Linked DNA regions of Homo sapiens: regions 1 and 2 are each linked to region 3. The links are contacts of gene promoters, found by promoter capture Hi-C in blood cells and fetal thymus (Javierre and others, 2016). All regions are on one chromosome and are shown on one strand. The core of a region is centred on a gene start or on the middle of the fragment in contact, and the rest is flanking DNA. Distances in the headings are between cores, read along the strand shown.

The links. The method cuts DNA at HindIII sites, captures the fragments that hold promoters and counts their contacts. A CHiCAGO score of 5 or more calls a contact.
Region 1: a fragment that was not itself captured here is called in contact with the fragment with the promoter of OXR1 in region 3 in 1 of 17 cell types (fetal thymus); the score reaches 7.3 in fetal thymus.
Region 2: a fragment that was not itself captured here is called in contact with the fragment with the promoter of OXR1 in region 3 in 2 of 17 cell types (activated CD4 T cells and naive CD4 T cells); the score reaches 6.1 in activated CD4 T cells.

What each region holds. Positions count from the first base shown.
Region 1 is chr8:109,330,208-109,334,928 of GRCh38, forward strand. It overlaps NUDCD1 (NudC domain containing 1), which reads right to left and starts at 3,880. Exons shown (of 10, transcript NM_032869.4): 1 at 3,686-3,880. The coding sequence starts at 3,803. It overlaps ENY2 (ENY2 transcription and export complex 2 subunit), which reads left to right and starts at 4,140. Exons shown (of 5, transcript NM_020189.6): 1 at 4,140-4,267. The coding sequence starts at 4,262. RefSeq lists enhancers at 3,572-3,621, 3,752-3,801, 3,984-4,721, 4,172-4,421. The HindIII fragment of the contact is 308 bases long and covers 2,292-2,599 here.
Region 2 is chr8:109,536,026-109,540,486 of GRCh38, forward strand. PKHD1L1 (PKHD1 like 1) reads left to right here. Exons shown (of 78, transcript NM_177531.6): 78 at 1-1,182. EBAG9UORF reads left to right here and starts at 3,701. Exons shown (of 1, transcript NM_001436381.1): 1 at 3,701-3,775. The coding sequence starts at 3,701. The coding sequence ends at 3,775. EBAG9 (estrogen receptor binding site associated antigen 9) reads left to right here and starts at 4,148. Exons shown (of 7, transcript NM_004215.5): 1 at 4,148-4,436. RefSeq lists a silencer at 3,547-4,096 and an enhancer at 4,157-4,461. The HindIII fragment of the contact is 518 bases long and covers 1,087-1,604 here.
Region 3 is chr8:106,268,148-106,272,913 of GRCh38, forward strand. OXR1 (oxidation resistance 1) reads left to right here and starts at 2,043. Exons shown (of 17, transcript NM_001198533.2): 1 at 2,043-2,220. RefSeq lists silencers at 1,768-2,017, 2,038-2,397. The HindIII fragment of the contact is 2,469 bases long and covers 1,590-4,058 here.

The DNA.
Region 1 (4,721 bases), core at 1,196-3,695, 3.1 Mb after region 3:
TTGGAATAGAAAAAGACAAAGTGACATTTACTGCTTATGTAGCAAAGGAAATTTTGGTACAACTTAATAACATTATTTAAGACAAGAGAATAAGCCTCATTGCATCAAGTTCTTGACACCAGAGACCACATCATCTTTACATCTTAAATGCAGTGTTTCAGGTAGCCAAGGTGCCCATCAAAGGTTTGTGGAACTAAAGTGAACTCCTTCAGTTAGAATAAAAGAAATCAAATTACCAGAAGCGCCTCAATTATGCTTCACTATCTCTAGAAATGATAGTTTTTAAACAAAATAATCTTTTTCATCATCCTCAAGTAATTCCTAATGAAAAACTCATCATGTGAACTATTGCAAAAGCCTCCTATCTGCTGTGTGCAGTCATCTCATCTTCCAAACTCAACCTCCACAGAGTCTGAGGTAAGCTTTTCAACTCCCGTATCTGTTCACGTCCCTTGTACTTAAAATGTGGTACACATACGCCATGGAATACTATGCAGCCATAAAAAGGAACACAATCATATCCTTCAAAGGGACATGGAAGGAGCTGGAAGCCACTGTCCTCAACAAACCAACGAAGGAACAGAACACAAAACACCACATGTTCTCACTTGTAAGTGGGAGCTGAATAATGAGATCACATGGACACAGGGAGGGGAACAACACACACTGTGGTCTGTCAGAGAATGGGGTAGGGGGAGGGAGAGCATTAGGAAAAATTGCTAATGCATGCTGGGCTTAATACCTAGGTGATGGGTTGACGGGTGCAGCAAACCACCATGGCACACGTTTACCTATGTACCAAACCTGCACATCCTGCACATGTACCCCGGAACTTCAAAGAAAAAAAAAAATCGGTCGGAGCAGTGGCTCAGGCCTGTTAATCCCAGCACTTTGGGAGGCCGAGGCAGGTGGATCGCGAGGTCAGGAGTTCAAGACCAGCTTGGCCAAGATAGTAAAACTCCGTCTCTAATACAAAAATTAGCTGGGCTTGGTGGCGGGCACTTGTAATCCCAGCTACTCCAGAGGCTGGGGCAGAGAACTGCTTGAACCCGGGAGGCGGAAGTTGCAGTGAGCTGAGATCGCGCCACTGCACTCCAGCCTCAACGACAGAGACTCCGTCTCAAAAAACAAAACAAAAACAAAAAGAAACAAACAAAAATTAGCTGGGCATGGTGGCGGGCGCCTGTAATCCCAACTACTCGGGAGGCTGAGGCAGGAGAATCGCCTGAACCCGGAAGGCAGAGGTTGCAATGAGACGAGATCACACTACTACAGTCCAGCCTCCGCAATAGAGCAAGACTCAGACTCAAAAAAAAAAAAAAAAAAAAAAATCTTCAAATGGCACCTGATATCCTGCAGCTGTACATCCCAAACACAGAATCTAAGATTAACGCTGATGAAATGAGTACGGAACAAGGACAACTTTGTGAATTTTTTCTAAAGTTAAAGTATTCAATGGATTGTTTATTGTGAGATTTTGCTTCCTGCTTTTTTGGTGTTAAAATATCCTTTTGTTTATGAAAAGATAGATGAGTAAATGATAGTTTTTAAGAAACATCTCCACCTAGTAAACAGAAAAGTTGGCAGAACTACAGCAGCTGAGTTTTATTTTATATTGTAATGGCTCAATACAAAAATGTCAGGGAAACACTGAATGACCGGAAATCCAAGAAATCCAAAAGGCAAACAAGGCCCTCACTGATTTATTTCCTCTCACTTTCCCAGACGTTTTGCTCCAGCAATATAAGAGTGCAAGGATGTCCAGCATACAACCTACTAATTATTTCCCTTTCCTCATGCTTTCCCATGAATGGAATGACCTCAACAATTTCTTCTCTTCTTCATATACTCATTTTATTGAATACATCCTATGTGCCAAGCACTAGATATAGGGTAGTGAACAAAAGAAAAACATCACTGTTTTCAAGGAACTCATAGTCTAGTGGAGGAAACAGACAACAAATCAAGATAGAATTTAAAAGGCCGATAAGTACGTCTTATGGAGAATGCAATGACGAAGCCCAAAAGTGAAGGCAGGAAGGCTAGTCAGGAGGCTACTAGAGTTCAGGTAAGAGATAACTCTGATTTGGATTAGGGTGGAGGCCTAGAGATATCAAAATGTGGAGCTGACCGGACTTGCTACCAAGCAGACAGTGGCTAAAAGAAATAAACCCCAAATGACTCTGGCACAAGTGTCTCTTGGTACCAACCTGGGCTAGTCTAGTCGGCTAAAGGATAAGAGACCACACGGAGAAAAGTCAAGAGGAGACCATGTGAAAGAATCTTAAACAAGCTTATAGTCTGAGACCCTACCCCCACCCTCCAAACATATGAGGAAGTCCAGCCAAATGAGCAGAGCTTCCCAGCAGATCCATTACTGAACAAGGATGCATCAATGAGCCCAACTAGGACTAGAAGAACCACTCAGCTGACCCGTAGACTTGTGAGCAATAATAACTGCTTCTTGTTTTGAGACACTGAATTTTGGCTTCACTTTCTAATGCACTAACTAAACATGGTGATACCATCTACTGACATGGGGTGACTGGAAGAAACACGGTGGCAAAGAGGAAAAGGAAAAAAATAAAAAGAAAAATCAAGCTTATCCTCTCTCATCCTAGTCAACTCTTAACCTACCCTTCAAAGCTCAACTTAGATATTAACTCCTCCAAGACGCCTTCCCAGATCCCCAGACTAGTTTAGGAAAGATATTCAAGTACTACCATTGTATTTTGTACATATCCCTATCACTGCCTTCCCATATTGTTTTACAATTATCTGTTTACAATTTTCTTCCTAACTAGCTAATAGTCCTCTTTTGTTACGGAAGGTGTCTTGTTCATTTTGATATTATCAGGACGTAACACAAAACAGGTACTCGGTAAATATTTCTGAATTTAATAAATCAATTAGCATAAACTTATTTTATACTTTAATGTCTGTTATTATAATTAACTGTAGATCACTATTTCTCAAAGTGTGATCTCTGAAAACATGCATCAGAATCAGCAGGGGTGTGAATTTTAAAATGCAGATCTCTGGGCTCTATCATAACGAAAATGCCGTTAAGTTGTAAAAACAAGAGTAAGGATATTCTACCAGCTACAGATAAAGCAAGGAGTAGCAGTGTGGGAGTAAATCCACTTTTCCTCACTATCTTCTAGAGATGTTCTCTACCAGAGTTCTTAATGTGCCAGGAACTGAGTAATTAAAAATGCTATGACTGGAATGTAGTTTCTCTTCTAAGAAACGGCTCTCGGTCAGAGGAAACAGGAACTGGGGGTCCTCCAAGGAGGTGTGGTTTCTCAACGCACACGTTCACAAGCGATGCTCCAGGAGGAAGGAATGTTCTCAGCGTCCCCCGAAACAGAAGCCAGGCTGTGGACACACAGCAGCCAGAGCCCCAGGCACTACCCGCACGCCAGCCCTCAGACCTCAGACCTCAGAGGCTGGGCTGCTGACGGAGGGGGCCCAGGGTCCCGTTACCGAAGAGCGCGCGAAGGCGGCTCCCACCGGGTTCTGGGATGGGCATCATTCCCCAGAAGCAGCGGCCTCCGTGAGTCCACGCAAGCCGCCACGGTGGCTTCGCTTGCCAGTCAGAAAGAAAGAAATTGCGGGAAGGGTCAGGCCGGAGGCAGCCGAAAGGGGAAAGGAACGGAGTACGAAGGGCGCCGCCGCTTCCCACCTGCGTCAAGCTCCAGCTGGTAACAAGGCAGCGGCTCAAGAGAGAGCTTGTAACCCTCGAAGCGGGGATCCAACAGAGGTCTCTTCACCCGTAGGGAGCAATTAGCCGCCACCTCCATCGCTTTCCAGGGCCGCAGCGTGAGAATTAATAAAGCCCTTGTTGAAAGGTCCGCGCTTCACGCCTCGCACAGAGACTGGGAAGCGGCGTGGTTCCCATCCCAGAAAACACTGCGGTGCGAACTGCCTTCTGGGAAATGTAGTGTCCGTGAAAAAGTTGAGACTGTTGCATGCTGGGCTATGTAGTTCTCCTGGTACTTAACGCGCGCGCGACGGCAAGGTCTGAACTCTGTTACCCAGAGGCCCTAGCAACCAGGAGGCGGCCCGCGCTGGTTAAATTCTCACATTATAGGCAGGGTGGCGAGACCCCGCCCCGGAAATGCGTGTTCTAGCTTTCTGTGTGCTTAGGTGCCCGAGCTACTGAGGGTCTAAGTCCGGGCAGCCGAAGAGTGTGGTAGGTAACGGTCCTCAGCGCAAGGGTCATTTCGTCGCTGGGAAGGGACGGCCCTCGCCCGCGGTGATGGTGGTGAGCTATGCCCGTGGTCCTCAGGGCCGGGACCCGGGCCCAGCCCAGGCTCCTTTCGATGTACTGTCTTTCGTTAGCGTCCCCGACCCGCGCTCGCGGGCCTGTAGGGCTCTCCGACAGGGCGTGCTACCGGAGTTGGCCTGAAACCAGTCCTCGCTTTGTTTTCTGGCTCCTCCTCTCCCGCCTCTCCCGCTGTCTCCGCCCTGTTCTATTTTCCCTAAGAATGTCTGAACTGGGAGGGATACCCTAGCGCCCTTGTTTTACCAGTGAGAAAACTGAGGCCTTTAAGAATTAAGTGACTTGTCCAAGGTCACTATCCGTATTTTAGGAGCCAAGACGAGATCAAGTTCAATATTCCAGGAGTGGTACTGACTAGACCTTGTAGTTATTTTGAAAATGTTAGCCTCCAATTACAAAAGCAAGCATTTCCTAGTTCTCACTCAACTTCTCCTTT
Region 2 (4,461 bases), core at 96-2,595, 3.3 Mb after region 3:
TTCTGGCTGTCCCTCCCTGTTTCCCTTTGTTAATATATTGCTAGTAGACATGTCTACTTCTGGTTGCTGATGACATAAAATTCACCTCTATTTCTTGGAAGCACTATTCCATGTTGTGAGCTAAAGGGGATTGTACTGATCTTGAAGATAACAAATCTGCCTGCTTCAAAGGTTTCACCGATTTTATTGCTGTGTTTCCAACACATTTCCACATATGGTATGATATTTAATTTGCAAAATAAATCCGTAAAGCAGGAATTACTAACCTAATTTTGCAGATGAGAAAACTGAGGCTTAAAGTTGTTCAAGGTCAAAGTCACGATGTCCATCATGCTGTAGCTCAATGAATGAGTCTCACATTGTTTCATGTTGTTTTATTTCTACTTTCTCAATCCATGTACAAGATAGATTTACAAACTACTGTTTTATGTTGGTTGTATGAATTTCAATACATTTACTGTTAGAAATAACAAAAGGTCTTAGACTGCCAGATGCTGTTCCCATCAACTCTACTTAATTCATAATATAGCTGAACTCTGTCATAAATCTAATAACGATGTGGACATTAGCCAGAAGTATGATGTGGCTGAACCTCACCACTGAACACAAAATGAGAATTCACCTCATCTTTTCATTTGAATTTATTTCTACTAAAATATATGTATTATTTTTCTTGATTTCTAACCAGGCCCCTTCTGAAGAAAACTGGTTAACTCTAAATTGTTACTAAATTTTGAATCTTCCTGTATTTAGCAATAAAAGTTACTGCTAATTGTAATAACAATTATGAGGAAAAATTTATTTAAATGCTTCATAGAAAGTTAATTTTCATTTAATAGAAAAGAAATAAAAAATCTGCTTCAGACTGTTTGATTTCTCTATTAGGCAATTGACCCTAACTAGTATATGGTGATTTTGAGTATTAAAAAAGAAGTTATAATTTTCCAGAATATTAATGTTTATTATTTTGAAAGCAAGTAAAATTCTCCAGTAGGAAGATTAATAAAACAATTCATTAAAATTCTCATCAGAAAATCCTATGCTTTCAAATGTATCTGCTCAAAGATGTCACTCTATGTGCGGCAAAGCTTTGTTTTACTTGATCAAGAAATGAATGTGACTTTATGATCTTGTATTCAACTGTGAACAGCTGCTCATTAATAAAAAGCCATTAAAGTCCAAGTCAGAACAGCAGGTCTAAAATTGTGTTTGAGGGAAAAAAAACCCACCCTTTGATGAAAAGCCAGGGAACTGGGTTGGGAAAGATCTGGAAGCAGAGGGCTGTGTTTGCAGTCTGCTCCTACCTCCTGGGCCAGGTCAGGTGACAAGGCCAGAGTTAGCCCCAGCTGGAGAAGTCAGAACAAAGCCTATGTAGGCTTTGAAAGGGGAGAGTAAGTGGTGGGCTGGAGGTTGATAGTGTGAATAAATCAAGCTGGTAATTGGGCAGAGGCTGATCAGAAGCGTTAAAGTGAGCAAAATGGTTTGGACACAGAGCAGACAGAATTTACTATATTCCATTGAGTAAAAGAAATTCATATGCCAGGTTCTATCCCTTATGTTCCTCCCATTTGACATCTGGTGGTTTCCTACCCCCGTCCCACACAAGCTTTGGGGAGAGGACAGGACTTAAAGTTCCCTGTTCCCAAGAGGTGGTCCCTAAACCCAATCCCAAATTATTGACTTGTGATCCCAATTATGGGCTTACTATTTAACAAGTAAAGATGATTTTAAAATATTATTTTATAGGTATTACTAAAGTAAATTTTAAATTTGCAGTCTTTAGCGAGCTTTGTTTTCTGTTTTGCTATTGTGTTGGGAAACAAGTACTCAGTAACTAGCTGTTTCTGGAAAAGTATATACATTTCGTTTTGTTTCATTTGGAAATGGCAAATTTAATAAAGAAAACTGAAGAATCAGGAAAAAGAAGAAAATATCCTTGGGCATAATAAATTGTCTAAAGCAATCAACTCTTTAAGAAAAAAAATTTAAACACGTTTATATCCGAATATAGGTTATTTTGGATTTTTTTTTTTTTTTTTTTTGAGTCAGGGTCCTGCTCTGTCTCCCAGGCTGGAGTGCAGGGCCCAATCATGGCTCACTGTAGTCTCGACCTCCCAGGCTCAGGTGATTCTTCCCACCTCAGCCTTCTGAGTAGCTGGGACTACAGGCATGCGCCACCAAACCTGGCTAATTTTTAAATTATTTGTAGAAACGGAGTTTCGCCCGTTGCCTGGGCTGGTCTTAAATTCCTGGGCTCAAGCGTTCCTCCTGCCTCGGCCTCCCAAAGTGCTGAGATTACAGGCATGAGTTACCGTGCCCAGCTAGATAACTCGATTTTTTAAATCCAAAAAAAATTTAGAAATTTTATATTGAAATTTAGGCATTAGAATTCTAGAGATTAAAGTTAGAGCAGGTGTTTAAGGGACTGAAAGGGGTTGCATGGCCTTTGGGAAATGCAATTACCGGAAATGATACTGTAGTAATGCAATAGTAATGCAGTAGTAGTAGTAGCTGCAGCAACAACTGTTATCTATGAATGTTTGCTATGTGCCAGGCTCTGTGCTAAGAGAGCTTTGCAAGCATTACTACTGCATGAAGTAGGCACTATTATGGCCATTTTACTGATGAGGAAATTGAGGTGAACAGATTAAATAATTTTACCCAACTTTACACAGAACCATTCCAGAGCACGAGCCATAAACACATCTTTCCCGTCTTGGAAATTAAATTATTAATAAAAAACGTGGTGCAAATTGGAAAGAGGACGGTTGTGGTAGATTATCACAAAGTTAAGTGGGTAGGTGGTTGCTGGGTCAGGGTGGGAGAACAAAGGCAGCTGTAATAAAAAAAAAAATTAAAGGCATATAAAGAAAAAGGCTTGTTGAGAACAATTTGCATAAACTGATTTTGGCCTTAGACCCTATTCACTTCTCCCTCACCAGTCACTTTGCAACTGTGGAGCATAGTATTCTGAGGGTCCCCTGCACATAACAACCCCTTTCATAGCATACAAGATAAAAAGAAGAATCAGGCTGCAAAGAGAGAAGCACTGAAGGAAAGAACATCTCAGGTTGAAAGAAGGGCAAGTCCAGGGTGCATGTGAGGAACAAATGCATGGACACGGTGAAGTGCCACTTCTTCATTTCTAGTTCAACACAATTCAATTAAAAATTACTGGGAGGAGGCTACGTCTTGAATTAAACTCAGCATTCCACATCTTTGAGGTGGCGGAATGACTGAGGGGAGGGGGTCTGTCTAGCCACATCCAAATCTTCCTGAGACAGAGGGAGATCCCTCATTTGTTGCAGTGTATTTTCCTTGGTCGCATCTGACACAGGGGTTCTGTGGGTTGAACAGAAAGGGACTTTGCTGGAGGGGAGGCACTCTGCATAGAAGGAAAGTAGGGACATCTGGCAGAAGCAGGCGCTCCGAGAATAAACAGTCAAAGCAGCTCGCAATAGTCCCAAAAAGCTACCCCTCACCGAACCTGGCGTGCCTGTCGCCGCTTGCCCCGCTCCCAGGGCTCATTGGCTCCCAGTCTCGACGTCAGACCCGTAGCCTCTCACCTATTGGGCCAGCCAGGACCTGAGGCGGAGTGCAGAAGCGAGGGCCTGGAGACAGCCGAGAGCCGCCTTCAAGGAGGGCTGGGGGCGGGGCTAGAGGAGGGGCTGGGGGCGGGTTTCCCGATGAAGGGGCGGCCATGGCAGCTGCGCAGAGGCAACGCAGGCTGCTACGGAGCGCGCGCCCGGCTTTGAATGAGCGGGGCTGGGAGTGAGCGGGCGGAGCGCGAGCTCGAGGAAGAGACAGGCAGCGCGCGTGAGCGCGCCTTGTGTGCGCGCGCGGCCCGCGGCAGCTCGGAGCCTCCGCCGGGCGGGCGGGGAGGGGGAGGGGCAGGTGAGTGTGTGCGGTTCGCGCGTGCCTGGGAGGGGCTTTCCTCTCCCTACCCCCATCCCGACCCCAGCCCTAGCCTCTGGGGCATTGTCTGCCCTTCGCCGTCGGCCCTCCGCCTAGCCGCGCACTTCCCGCCCTCCCACCTTCCTTTCGCCCTTCCACCAGACCTCCCTCGACGCCCGACAGCTGCTCTGGGTACTGTTTCCGGGTCAGGGTGACCTCTGGGGTGAGGAAACTGCGACTGGGAGCGGGACCCAGGCGTGCAGCATTCGCCATGCTCCGCTCACGCGTGGGAGACTGGGCTGTGGGGTACCGGCCCGGAAAGCACGCAGCCTCCAAAGCCGCCTTCCTCAGGGAAATTTGCGTGACCTTACTGCCCTCCGTCTACAGGCCTTGTACCTCTCCAGGCCGATTTTTCCACAATTTAAATCTCAGTTCACCTGGTATCCAGCTCCAGCAACTTAGAGCGTTTCACGTCACGCCGGGCGCCAGGCGTCGGCTTGTATAACCTGAAAACGCTCCTGTTTTTCTCATCTGTGCAGTGGGTATGATTTTTTTTTCATCAACAAA
Region 3 (4,766 bases), core at 793-3,292:
GTAGCATGAAGATGTTCAGAGTGCCATACCACCTTAAGAATAATTACTGAAAGAGGAAGAATGAAAGCAACCAGGATGAAAGTAAAGTTTATTTTTCACCTTCCTTCACCACTGATAGAAAGGAATGATTTGTGTTGATAGTCTAAGGAAATTCACATTTTGATCTCCCAATGAATCACCTATGGAAAATTAGAAACATGATGTTGTCATTATAAAGTGGCCCTGGTCCTGCAGATAATATTTGCAGCTTCAGTAAAAAAGTAAAAGATCAAACCTTAATTGATTACTTATTTTGGGGTGCACATGGCACTAAATTGCAAGTGGGGATGGAAGGGCGCAAATATCTTAGGAGGGAGGACATCTTGACCCAAATAGACAGATTCCACTACAGTTCTATGAAAAAATCACATGTACATTACTTAGTAGGGTTAGCAAAGTCTAACTAATTTATAATACTGGGAAAACAAAGTAGCTTTATCACAGAGTCTGAACTGAGATAATTATAAAATACATACCTAGTCTATACATTGCTTGTAGAAGATTCTCAGTAAAATCTTTCTGATAGAATAAAAATTAAACGCTATCAGTTTCAACATAACAGAAAATTTAAGCTGCGAATGCTCGTAAAGAAATTAGGTAAAAATAATGGAGAACAAAACCCGCAATCGGCTTATCAATCGGCTTACTGTTGACACGCCACGCCACTCAGAATAGTATCTAATTTTCTTGATCCCTTATCTCAGGTAAAGCTATTGACTCGGGGAAATAGGTTATGCGGAAACCATGAAAGTTTCTAGTCTGGCCGACCCTAGGTTCAACACTCTATTATTCCAGACAAGCGATGAGCTCCTGTCGCTAAATTTCAACATCCCTGTCTGTCAAATGGGAATAATAATGATTCTCTCATTGGGTGGCTGTGAGAGGTGAGTGAAACAAGACGGAAATTTGACCCAGGAAATATCTGTACCTCTTACTTTAAAGAACAGAATTAAAAAATAATAATAAATGATCAGAAATTAAGGTAGAATAGAGTGAACACTAATAGCGGGAAATAGCTAATTTGCAGGTGAGGTGGCTGAAAGGCTCCTACGCTTGAAGTGTTTGCTGGATGCACAGGAGATCTGGGATACATCCCGAACTCGGCAACAGGACCAGCTCCTTTCCTCAGGGTTACAGAACAGCCAGGTTCCAGTTCAGGTCTGGGAATCTACCCATCCAGAGTTTGCGCCCTTTTCGTTTTGCAATTTAAAACCGGGTTGGAGGGGGAAGGAGTGAAGGCAGCATGCGGAGAAAGTAAATTACAGTTCAGGTGACAGGAACAAGAAAATCTCCAAGGTCAGGGTGGGGTGTCAACGAATTATGCAAAACACTGCGGAATGAGGAGTCACAAACGCCTTGCAAAGAATTCTGAATTTTAGAAGCTCTTTGCAGAACCCCCTTCAGCCCGCTCCAAGCTGCCTTGGGTCCCTTTCTAGGCTGTCAGACTTCGCCTTCCTTTCCTCCTTGTTTTTCCCAGCAACCAAAGCATCTGAAGAACATTTTTTTCCTCCGTAAATCTGAACAAATTTCCTTGCAGCTTTCCTTGCAGAAGCTTTTTTATCGCTTTAACAAAACTTTCCTCTGCTTCTCTAGGGAGAGCCTAGTATTAGAGCTGCCCGACAGGCGGGACCCCGAAATCGGGGCAGCTCTGGCTTAGTCCAGGCTATTCGAGTGGGCGCCTGAACTGGAGGCGCCGTCTCCACCGGGATGGGGATCCTAGTGCAGGCAGACGCCTGGCAGGACTCGGCGAGCTGGGGTCCCCACCGCGGTAGCCAGAGCAGAAACCCGAACCCCAGCCAGAGGGGCCGCGCGCGGGGAGGGGTGCGCGCTAAGCCAGCGTGGCTTCCGCAGGAGCTATTTTTAGCGGTGCGTGCCTCCCCCCGCCCCCGGCGTGGTAGCCTCCGGCTCGCGGCGCCCCACGGCTCCTCTCAGTCTCCCCCGCCGCTGCCGGCTCTTGGTAGCTTCCACGCGGGCAGGTCCGGAAACTGAGCATGTCTGCAAGCGCTCAGCGGCGCCGGCAGCAGCGGGGCTAGAGCTGGGCTGCGTCAGGCTGAGCCCATTCACCTCGCGGCCACAGGAGCTCAGCGCCGGCGCCGCGCCGCCCAGCCCCGCCGAGAGGGGCGCACTCGCCGCCGCGGGGCCCGCCGCCGCTCACCGCAGCCCCCTCCTGGCGACCCGCAAGTAAGTTTGTGAGGCTGCTGGGCGTTAGGGCGAGGGCTTGGCGCCCGGGGGAGTCCAGGAGGGATAGCGAGAGGCGCGGCTGGCGCCCGGGAGAGCCGGCTGGCCTCTGCCCCCTGTGCCTGGCGCCTCTCCGAGCCACTTAGCCAATTTGAAAGCGGGTGGCCATTGGGATGCTCGAGCGGGGACGACGGGCAGAGCAGGAGGGCAGAACTAGCTCCAGCGGGGGCCCAGAGGGCGGACTTGGGAAGAAGGAAAGACCGCGCGGCGAGGGAGGAGACCGGGCGGCGAGGGAGGAGACCGGGCGGGGAGGCTGGGTTTGGGGCGCGGGAGCCCGGCCAGGGACAGCCGCAGAAGGAAAGTGGGGGTGTCGCCGGGGGATAGAGTGGGAGCAGCGTGAGAGCAGTGTTGGGGGCGCAGAGTGGAGGGCAAGCGTGTCTTGAACAGAACGGCAGGAGGATGGGTGGAAAGTGGGGCGCGTGGAAAGCGGATTTGGACGAGAGCAAAGGACGCCGGTGGAAGGGACAGTGGGCTCCGGAGGGGCGAGTGGATTCGGATAATTTGGGGAATCAGTAAAAGGCTAGGGGGCACATCATGATGGAGTCAGCCTGGAATCTGTCTCCCGCTAGAGTACCCGAGGCCACATGTTGGGAACTGGCTGGGGAAAGGATGGATGTAGAAAGTGGCCTGGAGGGCCGACTGGAAAATCGCTGAGGGATTTGGGTGAAGAGGGGGGGAGCTGTGCAGTATCGGGCGGAGGAACTGGGCTGCTGGTAGGGCCTGAAAGGTTCAGGAGAGGGTTGGAGGCTTCCCCGTGCCGCCCCTTGAATAGTGATTTAGTACTGTTATCTGAGGTTCACTTTCACCCCTGGCTCCTCCTCCGTCTACTACCCGGCTTGGACGCACCTCGGCTCGCTGTAGGCGAGCTTTAGGAGATTTAAATAGACATTAGGCAGTGGGGAAGGTAGTCGTTTACGGGGGGAGCTGCTCGGGCTTCCGTTCAGTGGTTCCCGGCACGCTCAGGGTGCAGTGTAGGGTCTGAATGTGTGTATTGCGGGGGTAGGGGGAGTGGTGTCAGTTCTAGGCCACAGGAATTCGTGGTCTGGCCCCAGAGGTGCGGTGTTTTTGGCCGGGAAGTCAGGCAGAAGTCTGCAGCGTGCAACTCGCAGCGGGGCGTGTGTGTGCGTGTGTGCGCGCGCGTGTGCATGTTTCCGGCCCGGGGTCGCGTGTGTGGCTGCAGCCTGTCTCCGTGACAAGAAGATCCAGGGATCTACGGGCGGCACGGGGAAGGGATTAAGGGGAACATACTTCCCTACGTCTTTTCTGCCTCCTTTTCCCAGGGTAGCATTCTTTGCTTATCCAATGATGCCTCTTTCTAACCTCTCCCTCTCCACTTACATCCCAAACCTGATGCGGGTCTTCTCTGATTCGGCACTCTAAGGAGGACTCAGCCGCCGGCTGCGACCACCGTGGACTCCCTCTATGGAAGGGAATCCTGGGAGTCCCGGCCGTCAGAGGGGTTCCCAAATCCAAAGGGTCCATCTCCAAGGCGTCACTCCAGGGGTCCGCGGTTCACTTTGCTGCCCCTTGCAGGTGATGCTGTGATTGTTGCCTGCGGACTGGGAAGCACGATGGCTCCAAAAGGCCAGCGGGGCCGAGAAGCAGGGACAGAGACCAGCATTTAAGGGATCTCTGGTGGGGGCCTCCCTGGAGTTCTCCACATGTAAATATAGCGAAAAAAGAAAACACTACGTTACTAGAATAAACACGTCCTAAAATTTCTGTGCAAAAACACCTTTTTGAACAGCAAAGATTTCACCCACCAAAACAAGGAAGCAAGAAGCTTCCACAGTGTGCAGGATCCGAAACAGGACCGGCCCGGCGTTGGGTGAGAGTGGGGGAGGGGTTGTCGGCTTCTCCATCCAGCTTGCCATGTTCTGTCGTCGGTTTCACATTTTCAGAGAGACTTTACCAGATGCAGGAAATGAGGATGAAGGCAACTCTGGAAGGATGCAAAGAAGGGAGAGCAAGCACTGTACCTACTGTCTGCTGTCTAAGAGGGCTGGTCTCATAACTAAAAGGTCCAGTCCCTGAGATCTTGTGTGCAACCGTCAGAAATAGTTCAGGACATCAAATTGCACAGAGAAGATTCAGATGAAGGGAAACAAGAACTCTGTGGAAAACTGTTGGGGACAGTGGCACGAGTTGTCTTGCAAGGTGATGTCTGTCCCGTGGAGGGACACAAGAGCGAGGACAGCATGGTTCTAATGGCCAGGGCATGTCTTCTTATTCCATGTGACAGTGGCTGGCTGAGTTGCTAGTACGTTTTTGAAATATACCCTTTGAAATATGTTGATTATTCTGGACATCTGTAAGGTGGGAGATTTGAATAAAAAGACTTCTGCTGTCATTATTGGCTTTTATGGCTATGATTTTTTTCAGTCATTATTATAAATCATGTGAAGGTAAAATAAATGATCATTTTAGCCATTCTGTTCTGCACAGAATGCTGTTCAAATAAAACATCATCTGATATGTTTGCCTGTATT